2 separate regions of the Homo sapiens genome follow, and region 2 is linked to region 1. Evidence: promoter capture Hi-C in 16 types of primary human blood cells and fetal thymus (Javierre and others, 2016). All regions are on one chromosome and are shown on one strand. The core of a region is centred on a gene start or on the middle of the fragment in contact, and the rest is flanking DNA. Distances in the headings are between cores, read along the strand shown. Region 1 holds the start of SPATA4 (spermatogenesis associated 4). Region 2 holds the start of CDKN2AIP (CDKN2A interacting protein).

Region 1 (6,939 bases), core at 1,247-3,746:
AAAGAAAATGTTTTTATCATAAGAACTTTTATAAAAATCTCCAAGTACTATGAATTCACTTTAATCTCCCTTTTATTTACCTATGAAGTAATTTTTGTGTTTAACACGTTAGTTATTAAAAGATAATATTCAGCAGGAAAACCAATCAGTATATATCATGCTAATGGAAATAATTATGCTCAGTTTCATAGGTGACTCATGACATAAACAGTTGGAATTTAATAAACTTTGTAATACACAGGAACAAGCTGCCAACTCAGTATCACACAGTCACACACATACACGTAGAGATCCAGGAAATTAGCATGGCACACTTTAAAACAAACATCTTAACAGTTAAAAGTGTAAATGACTGCTAACGTACCTTCTCCAACTGTGCCCAGTTATCCAACTTGACTTTTAAAGAGGTCCCGTTTTCAAAGGATGATAATTCAAGTTCCCAGGGGTAATATATACAGAATATTTCTGCAATTAGGAAGCCATTTGAAAAATCTCTGATCCGTGGCAATTAGGAAATGAAATAAAGTGTAGTTAATTATGCAGTTTGTATTATTTTATAATTAATACTAGTCTAATATTCCATACTAAAAGTATCTTGTAAAGTGAGTGTTGTTGGATCGTTGCTCTAAGGAGAACCTACTGTGGAATTTTGCTAAGATTATCTACGTTTCAAAGGCTTTGGTGTTCTTTTGATGAACCCAAACTGTTAATTTGTATTGAATCCGCATTTCAAGAAGATCCCCAGGTGATTCATATGCACTTTAAAATTTCAGAGGCATGGTTGTAAGTAATACTGAAGACAAATTAGTAAACTAGTCCCCCGCTTATCTGCAGTTTTGCTTTCTGCAGTTTCAGTTACCTTGGGTCAATCACAGTCGGAAAATATTAAATGGAAAATTCAAGAAATAATTTGTAACTTTTAAATTGTACTCTGTTCTGGGCAGTCTGATGAAACCTCCCTGCCTGCTCTGTGTTGCCTAGGATGTGAGTCCTCCCTTTGTCCAGAGTCTCCACGTTGTAGACATCAGTCACCTTTTAGTCATCAGATCAACTGTACAGTGTGGTGCGCTTGTGTGCAAAGTGCAAGAGCAGTGATGCTGGTGATTCAGATATGCCAGAGAGAAACCATAAAATTATTCCTTTAGGTGAAAAGATGAAAGTTCTTGACTTAATAGAAAGTTGTAAGAATGGTTACAATGGTAGGAATGAATCATATTCCTGAAATATGAAGAAAAAGAAATTCTTGATAGTTTCGGCATCACACCTCAAACTGAAAAACTTTCAGCCACAGTGTGTGATAAGTGCTTAGTTAAGATTTTTAAAAAGGCATTAAATTTGTGGATGGAAGACATAAACAGAAATGTGTTCTGACAGAGGGTTCTGTAGTATCCACAGTTGCCATCCACTGGGGATCTTGGAACCTATGCCTCTCTGATAAGGAGAGACTACTTTAAACCAGAGTTCTGCAAAAGATTCATTGCCTTTTTATAGAATTTAGTTTGCATTCCCAGAGCAAATATTAGCTGCCAGTTACATACAAAGTGCCTACAATTAAGCAGCAACTTTAAAAACTTGTTGGTAACTCTCAAACTAGATGCCATCTCCGACAAAGGGTAAACTGATCCTTACCAGTATTTTTTTTTTTTTTTTTTTTTTTTTTTTTTGAGACAGAGTCTTACCCTGCCACCTAGGCTGGAGTGCAGCGGCATAATCTCGACTCACAGCAACCTCCGCCTCCCGGGTTCAAGCATTCTCCTGCCTGCAGCCTCCCCAGTAGCTGGGATTACAGGCACCCGCCACCACACTGGGCTAATTTTTTGTATTTTTTAGTAGAGACGGGGTTTCACCGTGTTGGTCAGGCTGTTACTCAACTCCTGACCTCAGGTGATCCGCCTGCCTCGGCTCCCAAAATGCTGGGATTACAGGCATGAGCAACTGTGCCCGGCCGTCCTTACCAGTATTAATGCCCAATATCACTAAAGAAAAAGCTTTGACTATTTTAATATTTTTGTAGTCACCAAAGCATTCTATATTGTCCACAATTTAATGATTGGTTGATTAATTGAATAAACAAGATGTATCGTGGTATTTTGTTAAAGCCTTGTTCCCTAATAGTGTTTTCGTGTGTGTACGTGGGTGGGGGGGTCTTGATTTGAAACATAAGCCAGGCCAGGGTAGGCAATCTGAGGCCTGGCAGGCGGCGGAAAGCAGGCGGGGCGCCCACCGGGGGGGCCTAGGACTGGCTTACTCAAGCACCTGTTGATGTTCCTGGGGAAGAAGCTGAGATCCAGACCCTGAAGCCAACGCAGAACGGAACGAGACAAGCGGGAGCTCTTCGGCGCATGCGGATAGACCAGACACTTCTTAGGCCTCCCTCGGATGGGAGCTGCTAGCTGTGGCGAAAGTGACGGTGACTTGTCTAGGGCTGCCGCAGTCTGTGTCAAATACCCTTTTTCCTGGCCGGCGGCAGCCATGACGCTTTCTGGGTTGCTGCGGCAACAGCAGAAGGCGGGGCTGGGCCTTATTGCTGGCGGCGCGGTCTCGTGGGGCGGGGCGGAGTCTTATGGGGCGAGACCTCAGCGCCTGCGCAAGCGCCGCAGCAGCCGCCCGTACTTCCGCTTTACTCAGATTTTGGACCGCGGGGCCGGGTATCGAGGGAGGCAAAGCTGGGGTCCCAGTGGTGTGGCTGCGGTCTGGGGAGCGCTTTCAGTCTCAGATTTAGTTGGCCTCACTGTTAACCTATTTAGAGCTTTTTTTTTCTTATGTCATCGTTCATAAGTTTTGTATTTTAAATATTGTTGGTTTCTGCCCAGCCAAAGGCCTATTTTCAGTCGTCTAGTTTGAGGAGTGGTGTGAGAAGACTCCAGAGGCCAAGGACAGTTTTTGTTTGGGAATTGGAAGAGATGGGGGAAAAAAATCTTTGAAATGGAAATGAATGTCCACAAAATTTAACATAACTATTTCCTTAATTATTGCATTAAGTATTTGTAAACATTAATATTTGAAAACGATGTGTAGGTTAGATTTTCACACTTAATTAAAATCTCCTAGTAGGCATAATTCCTTCATTAATTCAACAAATATGTATTGAGTCCATATTATGTGCCACGCATTCATCTAGTCACTTGGGATCTATCTGAACACAATGAAAACAACTGCAAAGTTGGCATAGGCAATTATAAATATGTAAGCTTAATTATTAAAATCCATTAAAAATTTTTACAGCCACAGTTTTTTGTTTTTTGTTTTTTGTTTTTTGTTTTTTTTTGCTTGGCAGGGCACAGTGGGTCATGCCTGTAATCCCAGCACTTTGGGTGGTGGAGGCGGGAGGATCGTTTGAGCTCAGGAGTTCAAGACCAGCCTGGGCAACACAAGGTGGAGAGACTTTCGCTACAAAACAAACAAACAAACAAAATAGCTGGGTGTGGTGGTGCACACCTGTACTCTCAAGTACTCCAGATGCTGAGGTGGGAGGATTGCTTGAGCTCAGGAACTTGAGGCTGCAGAGAGCCAGGTGACAGGCCCTGTGGATACATACACATGGTAAAATATGGGATAGATCTTGATAATGATACTATGTAATATTTTTAATGTTTATTCATATACATGCTTATTAATAAAGTAAACCAGTGTATTCTGTATGTGGTTAAAAAAGAAAACCAAAACTGAAGCTATGTAAGTGTTTTCTGTTAGGCTAAAAAAGTTTTAATGAATGATTCATTCATTCTGTAAACCTTTTCTGAGGAACTATCCTGGAGTATGTGCTAGATCTTTACCATCCAATATGGTAGCCACTAGCCACATGTGGCTATTTAAACTTAAATTTAAATAAACTCAGTTCCACTGGCTACATTTTACCTGCTCAATAGCCATATGTAGCTAGTGGCTGCCATGTTGGGTAGGACAGACACAGCACTGTTCCATCACTACAGGAATTTCGATTGGACAGCTCTGTGCGGCAGATCATTTATAAGAGATTCAGAGATAGAAATATCAGTGAAAAGATTACATACACTGAAAAGCTCTGCCATGGTAAAAATATGTTAGCACCAGAAAGGAAGCAAATACTTTGGCCTGGGAGAGTGTAAGAAGTCCTCTCAAAAGAGATGACCATTAATTTGGATCTTAGAAGGTGGTATTTTAAGCTGATTTTTAAGATGAAAGCTTTGAATAGCCATTTCTACTGTGAAAGGAAATTAAATCTTGGGACCCCCCCCACCTCCCCCAAATCACTAAGCTAAAGGGAAAAGTCAAAGTGGGAACTGCTTAGGGCAAACCTGCCTCCTATTCTATTCAAAGTCACCGCTTAGCTCACTGAGCTAAATGCATACCTGATTGCCTACTCTGGAAAGGCTCATCAGAAACTCAACAGAATGCAACCATTTGTCTCCCATCTACCTATGACCTGGAAGCCCCCTCCCTGCTTGAGTTGTCCTGCCTTTGCTTCTAGTTGTCCCACCTTTTCCAGACCAAATCAATGTTCATCTTCCACATGTCGACTGAAGTCTCATGTCTCCCTAAAATGTATAAAACCAAACTGCCCTGACCACCTTGGGCACATGTCAGGACCTCCTAAGGCTGTGTCACGGGTGCTCATCCTCAACCTTGGCAAAATAAACTTTCTAAATTAACTGAGACCTGTCTCAGAGTTTCTGGGTTCACACTACCTTTTATTAGCTATATGACTTTGGGCAAGTTATTTAACATTTGTATTTGTAAAATATGGAAATAAATAGGATACACCACAGAGCTGTAGAGATTAAATAAGTGAAATCTATAAAGAGCCTAAAACAATGTGCAGCACGTAGTGCTCAGTAAGCATAGATGATTGCTTCAAAGGTGATCTTGGAAATTTATTTGGATGATGAAGGGGCAATCTCACACAGAGTGACTAATGGGAGCAATTGCATAGAAATATGAGGGGTTTTTTAAATGAGTTTTAGGAAAGAACAGAACCCATTAGGGTTAGAGAAAGTGTTTAGGCATTATCAACCAAAGAGACATTGTCAACCAAAGGTTTAGATGATAATGGCTAGAGAGGTAGGTTAGATCTATAGGTTAGGGTTTATTTGTTTTTGTTTTTGAGACAGAGTCATGCTGTTGCGCAGGCTGGAGTGCGGTGGCGTGCTCAGGGCTCACTGCAGCCTTGACCTCCTGGACTCAAGTGAACCTCCCACCCCAGCCTCTCATCTCAGCCTCCCAAGTAGCTGGGACTACAGGTGCAAACCACAATGATTGGTCAGTTTTTAAATTTTTTATAAAGACGGGTCTTGAACTTGTGGGCTTGAGGAATCAATCCTCCAGCCTTGGCCTTCCAAAGTGCAGCAATTACAGGCATGAGCCACCACGCCCAGCTAGATTGGGGCTTAATTGTAAACAGTTTTGCTAAAGAGTTGGAAATCTTCCTGTAATCAGTGTGCCAATTGTTAAGCAAATACATCCCTGTTAGAAACACTCCCTTCTCTGTTCTCAGTTCTGTGATGCCGGAGTTGGAACGCTGCGGCATTTTCTCCTTTGCTGGGTGGATGGTAAATTCTGCCAATATGGGGAGTGAGAGAGTGGCCAGGAGGTGGGGAGCAGGGATTTGCTATTTCTCTGCTTGCTGTTCAAGCCCCTGTGTAACCATGGCAACAAAGCTTCACCTGGCCGGGGCAATTGGTTCCAGTCTCCAGTATGGTTGGTTGGTTGGTTTGTTTGTTTAGCACTCCTGGTGCAAGTTTCATCATATTCTCTCCGAGGTTTTAGCAACCACCAAGAAGTGGCCCTCCTTGGAAGTCTGAGACCCAATTTTACTCTCGGACAGCTCATGTGAGCTCCTGAAGTATTAGCACCAGCTGTGTACGCCCCATCCTCAAGTCTAAGTCTTGAGGCTCTTAAGCCTCCAACTCTTACGTTCTTATAACTTCAACTTCTTCCCTGGGGGTGGTAATTGCTTCCTGAAGTGTCTAGCTCTGTGTTAATTTGATGGTCCCATTTTAGTTTTTCGGTTCTTCAACACCACCAGTTCCTTATAAAGCCGATGCAGGTTTGAACCACAGGATTTGGAACTGCACGGGCCCACTAATATGTGGATTTTCTTCCACCTCTGCCAACCCCAAGACAGCAGGACCAATCCCTCCTCTTCCTCCGTCTCCTCAGCCTACTCAGTGTGAAGACAAGGATGAAGACCTTTCTGACGATCCACTTCCACTTAATGAATAGTTAATATATTTTCGCTTCTTTATGATTTTCTTAATAACATTTTCTTTTCTCTAGCTTACTTTATTGTAAGAATACAGTACATAATATATATCACACAAAATATGTGTTAATTGATGTTTATGTTATTGGTAAGACTTCCAACAGTAGGCTATTAATAGTTATGTCTTTGGGGAGTCTACAGTTGGGTTTTCTACCATGCAGGACGTCGGTCCCCCTAATCTTAATGTTGTTCAAGGATCAGCTGTTAAAATTCTTGCTGTTGAATACCTGGAATTAGTTCTGTTTTCCTGATTGGATGCTGAATGACATATTGCTTGGTACCTGGAGTGAGGTTTTTCTCTACCACTAGCTCACCTGCATCTTTCTAAAGTATCTAAGGAACTTGCTTCTTCCTGTTCATGAGGTCGACTCAGCAGGATATCATCAATATAGTGGACTAGTGTGATGTTCTATGACATGTTAAGACACTCAAAAATCTCTGCCAATCTTGTGGCAAAGAGCAAGAAAATTGATCTGAACCTAAGGCAATAGCTTGAATGTGTGCTATAGATCCTGATAGATAAAAGCAAACTGCTTTTGGTGGTTTTCGCAGACTGTTATGGAGAGGAAAAAGTACATTCCAGATTAACAGCAGAATAACATTTGCTGGGGACTGTAGAAATTCATTCCAGTAAAGACACTTCAGGCCAGGTGAGGTGGCTCACACCTATAATTTAGCCCTTTGGGAGGCCGAGGCGG
Region 2 (6,939 bases), core at 2,354-4,853, 7.2 Mb after region 1:
CCAAATATCTCCATTTCCGACTCCTGAACTCACTCTGATATGGAGTCTTCATCACTGCAGTAAAAACGGCTTTTGCCAAGCTCACAGGTGGCTCCAGTCCGTAATCAGACTGTTACTACCTATCTTCATCCTACTTGATTTCTCAAAGCTTCTAACAGAGGGGATCACTCTTAAAACATTCTCTTACTTTTTCAGAACATCCCACCTTATCACTGTAATTTGGCAGATTTGTGTCCTCACACATCATTAGCATAAAATATTTCCCCTCACCATGAAGTATTTCTCACATCAAGTCATAACCTTGGCCATAACTGGAGTATTTGCTCCTCACAAGCCTCTCCACATGCAGACCTTCCTGCCAAAGGCTTTCTTGCTTCCACAGTCACATCCAGGAACAGGGGCAATCCCTTCATGTTGCTCCATGGGAAAGCCATCTGCAGAAAAGCCAGCTTGCCGCTGGAATTTTTATTGGATGTCTTCAGAGAGATATGCTACAGAACCAGTTTCAGTGAATGGGCTTCCACTTACAGCAGAAAATTTAATCCTGTGAACTCAGTCACTTGTTTGAAACTCAATTTGGGATGATAGTGGATCTTTCTCAATTCATTAGAATTCTCTCCCTTTTCTCCTCTGAGTAGATTTCTAGTGAGGGCAGTGGTGGGGTGAGGCTTGGTTATCATCCTAGCATTGTCTTGTGCTTTCTTCCCTGTGGGCTCTGCTGGGAGTATAACTGCTTGATCTACCAGCACAAGCAATGCACACTGATCATTTCAGGAGAGGTTGAGGGTCCTCTCCTATTGATGCGGCCTGACGGGCACTGGTCTGATGACTTGCTGAAAACTAGCTGCATCTCCCTTTGCTGACAAGCTGACCACCCCTAGCCTCATTCACCTTGGACCCTGGTGCTTGGTAGGCACTTCACCATTCAACTCTTTCTTGGGAACCTTTTGGATCTCCTCTAGGCCCTGTGAGATATATGTGCGTAAATGCGTGTGTGTGTGTTATGTATATATACACACACACATATGTATATATATATACACACGTGTGTTAGGAGCAGAGGAGGGAGTTGTATAGTTGGTTATCAAAGCTATAAAAGGCCCTTTCTATGTTCATTTCTAAAGGCCAACGCATACAGGCTCAGGGCACGATTGGGCTGTCTTCTCTCAGAAACTCGGGCAGAGCCAAGTCCTTCTGCTCTTAGACCCAAAATCTACCTAGCAATTTCTAACAGCCAACACTTCCCACCCTGCATCTTATTCCCTACTCCCATAGACTTTCCTAGTTATCACCTAAATTCTCCTCTCACCTTTTCTCTCAGAACGTCTCCCCCAGCTTAGAGAGGAATTTGTCTCTGTAGGTGGGAGGGTCTTTAAAAAAAAATGAGGCCGGGCACAGCGACTCATGCCTATAATCCCAGCACTTTGAGAGGCCGAGGCAGAAGAATTGCTTGATATTAGGAGTTCAAAACCAGCCTGGACAACAGTGAAACCTTGTTTCTACAAAAAAATAAAAAATTAGCCTGTCGTCGTGGTACCCGCCTGCAGTCCCAGCTACTTGTGGTTCATAGTCTTTGAATCTTTATATGCAAAGTCAACTTTTTAAGAATCAAAAAAGAAAAATGCATGTATCTTTTATTCCAAGCACCTGGTTTTTGCACAAGTACTCCATCTTTCAGACTCTATCGCTTTTATTATAATTAAAAAAATTGTTTGAAATTCAGGCTCTACTTGTTCTCCTTTCAAGGCAATGAAGCCCATGAGTGGGAAGAAGACTACAGGGCAACAAGAAAAAAAGTGAGAACATTATTATTATTATTTTTTGAGATGAAGTCTCACTCTGTCACCCAGGCTGGAGTGCAATGGCTTGGTCTCGGCTCACTGCAACCTCTGCCTCCTGAGTTCAAGCGATTCTCCCGCCTCGGCCTACAGAGTAGCTGGGACTACAGGCACGTGCCACCACACTTGGCTAACTTTTGTATTTTTAGTAGAGATGGGGTTTCACTACATTGGCCAGGCTGGTCTCGAACTCCTGACCTCATGATTCGTCCGCCTCGGCCTCCCAAGGTGCTGGGATTACAGGCGTGAGCCACTGCACCTGGCCGTGAGAACATTCTTGATTTAAAATGCACATATATAATCTAGGTATGCGATCATAGCTTCTTTTACTTGCCATGGTCCCCTTGCCAAAGAATTCATGAAAGGAGAAATCGTAATTTCTCCACCTTTTAAATAGCCAGATTTCTGCAATCCGTCCACCCCCTCTAGATTTTCAGCAATTATCTGTGAAAAGGAGGAAAGAACAGCAAACTAGAAGCAAAATCACAAAGCTTCAAAATTTCTTTGTGCCTCCGTTTTTATGTAGTTTCTTTTGGTATGGCAGGAAAATGGGCAATATTGTTTTCATACAATAGCTGTATTTTGTTCCAGCATGCACATAAATTACACAGTTAACCTTATCTGATCTTACCTAAAGTGACCTTTTTTTGCTTGCTTATTCTGATTCATGCATTTTTACATCAAAGTCTACATTTATTGAAAGAAAAATTTCATAATTTATATCATTTAACGTATTTATCTTACAGTGCATGTATACCTGGAATGGGAAACGTAACAATAAGCCAGCCAGCAGTTAGAGTACGTAACTGTGGGAAATGTAAAGTGGAAAAAAATATATAGAAGGAAAAAACAGCTCTAACAGGGAGAGAGGTTTGGGGCCCTATAGATAAATAGGTACATTTCCACTCCACCTCCGGACATCTGCCGGTTGGTGGTAAAGCTGTTGATTTTAGGAAATTCTAGAGACAGAGCGTTGTCGGGGTGTTGTTTTCCTACTGACCAGAACAGGAAGGCAATGCCTGGATTAACTAGAGACCTAATAAACTGCGGGAACAAGCCCTACCGCTGCGGGGCCAGGGCCAGCTTCGAAGGCTGCAAGCCTCACGGCAACACGGAGCCAGGTCCTCGTGTGACCTTACTGTCTACTGCTGCTATGTAAGGGGACTGGCACTCCCGCCCTCCTGAAGGCGCGGAGACCCCGACGGCCTCGGAACGCTTCGCTCGGGCACACTGAAAGCAGCGCGAGACGCAGCTCCCAACACTCTAACATGGAGGCCGGCTTTTGTTTGTTTTGGCCCCGCTCACACACAGGCGTCTCAGGGCGGAGACCACAGGCCCCGCGGCTGCGGGCGGCTCAAGGTCCCCCGGGACGCCCCCCTAGCGGACTTTGGCCGCCGCGCCCGGCTGCCTCCCTTGCCCGGGCCCTGCCCCTCTCGCCTCTGCTCCCGGCGCCGCAGCTGACCCGGCGGGGGAGGAGGACGGCAGGAGCGCGCGGCGTCACAAAGCGAGGACAGAACGCCCGGGGTTCCGCCGAGACTCGGTCGTCCCAGGCCAGCTCGACTTGCAGTCCGCCCTCGTGGGGCGGGAGACGCCCGACGCCCGCCCACCTCACCCCCGGGGTGCCCTCCGTGGCCTCACGGGGACGCAGCGTCGCAGCGGCCCCGGCGCCGCAAAGCGTCTTGGGAGCGCCGGCTCGCGCCGGAAGAACGCGAGGGCGCGCGGCGGCGGCGAGGTTATAAAAGGGAAGAAGCCGGCGGTGGGCGGAAGTGGGCGGTTCGGCGGCTCTGGGCGCTGTTGTTTGGTCTTTAGGCCTGCGGAGGGGCGTTATCTGGAGGGCCGCGGGTGCAGGCCGCAGTGACAGGGCCGCTCGCCCCGCTAGTCCTGCCTGTCTCCCGGTGCAGCTGTGTTCGCGGCCTGCAGGCCCAACATGGCGCAGGAGGTGTCGGAGTACCTGAGCCAGAACCCGCGGGTGGCAGCCTGGGTGGAGGCGCTGCGCTGCGACGGCGAGACTGACAAACACTGGCGCCACCGCCGGGATTTTTTGCTTCGCAACGCCGGGGACCTGGCCCCCGCTGGCGGCGCTGCCTCCGCTAGCACGGATGAAGCTGCCGACGCCGAGAGCGGGACCCGAAACCGGCAGCTGCAGCAGCTCATCTCCTTTTCCATGGCCTGGGCGAACCACGTCTTCCTCGGGTGCCGGTGAGTGAGGCAGCGTCCCTAACCAGCACGCCTCGTTTTGTGTGCCACCTGCAGACCGGGGCCCGGCGCCCTCCGCGGGACCGGCCTCGGCGGGGAGGGGAAGTTGTGAAGCGCGGGAATCCGCCGGCCCGGCTGCCCTCTAAGGGGGAGAAGGGCGTCCCTGCGAGGAGCCGACATGATTCCCGGACGTCTGTGTGCCCGGTGGTGTGGGCGCAGCTGCTGGTAGGGTTGCTTGTGTTAGGGAACAACGCTCTTGGGGACGGGTGCGAGATTTAAGATTAGTGAGGAGGTGCCCTGCCTCCCAGACCCTGGGGCACTTGTTTATGGGGTTCCAGGAAACAGTTCTTGGCGGTTGGTTCACTTTCTTGATTGCAGCCAGGAAATGCAGTCCCTGTGGCCTGTTTTTTGCACAAGTAGGACCTTAGAAAAAACACTTTTTAAAAATGACTTTTCCTTCTTTTTCAGATACCCTCAAAAAGTTATGGATAAAATACTTAGTATGGCTGAAGGCATCAAAGTGACAGATGCTCCAACCTATACAACAAGAGATGAACTGGTTGCCAAGGTGAAGAAAAGAGGGATATCGAGTAGCAATGGTTAGCAGATCATAGATGTGAACATACATAGGAGTTTAGAGCATAAGTTTGATATAATTAGGAATTATTGTTACTAATTTTTTTAACAAGCCAGAATTTTTATGTTATTAATAAGTAATAAAGTTGGAATGTTAAACCTAAAGTATATATCTGTGTCTTTAGGCTTTGAATTTGATAGTTTGCTTTGACTGCTTTAGATTTTGAAGTGTCCACTGTTGTCTGATGCTGTTATTTTTTTAATATTAGACATTCATGATGTTATTCAACACTGTTTTAAGAAATTAATGACTCCACACTTTTTAAAGAAACGATTAGTCTTGAAATGTTTTCACTTTGTGCCTTTATTTTAATGTGTATTTGTCTCATCACCCGTTTTGTACGAGGTATTCTTAGTCACATATCTATGTTTTTCTTCTTTTTAGAAGGGGTAGAAGAGCCATCCAAAAAACGAGTTATAGAAGGAAAAAACAGTTCTGCAGTTGAGCAAGATCACGCAAAAACCTCTGCCAAGACAGAACGTGCATCAGCTCAGCAGGAAAACAGTTCAACGTGTATAGGGTCGGCCATCAAATCAGAGAGTGGGAACTCAGCTCGGAGCTCTGGCATCTCCAGTCAGAATAGCTCTACAAGTGATGGAGATCGATCTGTTTCCAGCCAAAGCAGCAGCAGCGTTTCCTCTCAGGTAACAACGGCAGGATCTGGGAAAGCTTCTGAAGCAGAAGCTCCAGATAAACACGGTTCTGCATCATTTGTTTCCTTGCTGAAATCCAGTGTGAATAGTCACATGACCCAATCCACTGATTCTAGACAACAAAGTGGATCACCTAAAAAGAGTGCTTTGGAAGGCTCTTCAGCCTCAGCTTCTCAAAGCAGCTCAGAGATCGAGGTGCCCTTGTTGGGCTCCTCAGGAAGCTCAGAGGTAGAATTGCCACTATTGTCTTCCAAACCTAGTTCAGAGACAGCTTCAAGTGGGTTAACTTCCAAAACTAGTTCAGAGGCAAGTGTTTCATCATCAGTTGCTAAAAACAGTTCCTCATCAGGCACATCCTTACTGACTCCCAAGAGCAGCTCTTCAACAAATACATCGCTGCTAACTTCCAAGAGCACTTCCCAGGTAGCTGCATCACTACTAGCTTCCAAGAGCAGCTCCCAGACCAGTGGATCTCTGGTTTCCAAAAGCACTTCCTTAGCAAGTGTGTCCCAGTTGGCTTCTAAGAGTAGTTCTCAGACTAGCACCTCACAGTTGCCTTCTAAAAGTACTTCACAGTCAAGTGAGAGTTCTGTCAAATTCTCTTGCAAGTTAACCAATGAAGATGTGAAACAGAAGCAACCTTTTTTCAATAGACTATATAAAACGGTGGCATGGAAGTTGGTAGCTGTTGGTGGCTTTAGTCCCAATGTGAATCATGGAGAGCTCCTAAATGCAGCTATTGAGGCTCTGAAAGCAACACTGGATGTATTTTTTGTCCCACTAAAAGAATTGGCAGATCTGCCTCAAAATAAGAGCTCTCAAGAAAGTATTGTTTGTGAATTGAGGTGCAAGTCTGTGTATTTGGGCACTGGCTGTGGAAAAAGCAAAGAAAATGCAAAAGCAGTTGCATCAAGAGAAGCATTGAAGTTATTTCTCAAGAAAAAGGTGGTGGTAAAAATATGTAAAAGGAAATACAGAGGCAGTGAAATAGAAGATCTAGTACTCCTTGATGAAGAATCGAGGCCTGTAAACTTACCTCCAGCACTAAAACATCCTCAAGAATTACTATAATGTGTCCAAAATATCACTGCATACAATATCTGGTATTTGAAGAGAAAAACTGACTTTTGTATAGTATAAAACACAGGCTTTCACAAATTTTGTATTGCTTTTTTTCCAGTTTTGCAGAAAATTTACATTCTAGTTCTCTTCACACAGTAGCAGTTGTAAATAATTTATGAATGACAGTACACATTAAAAGGTATGCATTAGCAGCATATTAGTATGCTGTTTTATTTGCTGAAGAAAATACTGTCTTCTATTTTTAATGATACATTAGGTACGATGTGTAGTTCGGTAGAGTCCTAAAATTTTTGTACTACTTTCAATTTGGTGAAAATGTATTAAGTTGTCTACCATGTTTTCTTTTCTAGCTGAATAAACCACATCAAAGGAAAGGGACCACAGTATTTGAATGTTTGAAAGTCTGTAAAGCTTAAGGTTTTAAAAATGTTGCCCGTAATGTTGAACGTGTCTGTTAAAAAATAAAAGAAAAAATAGTTGCTTCAAACTATTTTTATGAGAAGTTGTAAGCATTTTTTAGATATAAAGCAGT

The links. The method cuts DNA at HindIII sites, captures the fragments that hold promoters and counts their contacts. A CHiCAGO score of 5 or more calls a contact.
Region 2: a contact is called between the fragment with the promoter of CDKN2AIP here and the fragment with the promoter of SPATA4 in region 1, in 1 of 17 cell types (total CD4 T cells). The highest score is 6.6, in total CD4 T cells.

What each region holds. Positions count from the first base shown.
Region 1 is chr4:176,193,089-176,200,027 of GRCh38, forward strand. SPATA4 (spermatogenesis associated 4) reads right to left here and starts at 2,497. Exons shown (of 6, transcript NM_144644.4): 1 at 2,257-2,497; 2 at 365-494. The coding sequence starts at 2,474. The HindIII fragment of the contact is 1,203 bases long and covers 1,987-3,189 here.
Region 2 is chr4:183,441,033-183,447,971 of GRCh38, forward strand. It overlaps CDKN2AIP (CDKN2A interacting protein), which reads left to right and starts at 3,604. Exons shown (of 3, transcript NM_017632.4): 1 at 3,604-4,037; 2 at 4,503-4,633; 3 at 5,056-6,939. The coding sequence starts at 3,766. The coding sequence ends at 6,395. RefSeq lists a silencer at 3,079-3,628 and an enhancer at 3,909-4,058. The HindIII fragment of the contact is 3,011 bases long and covers 2,328-5,338 here.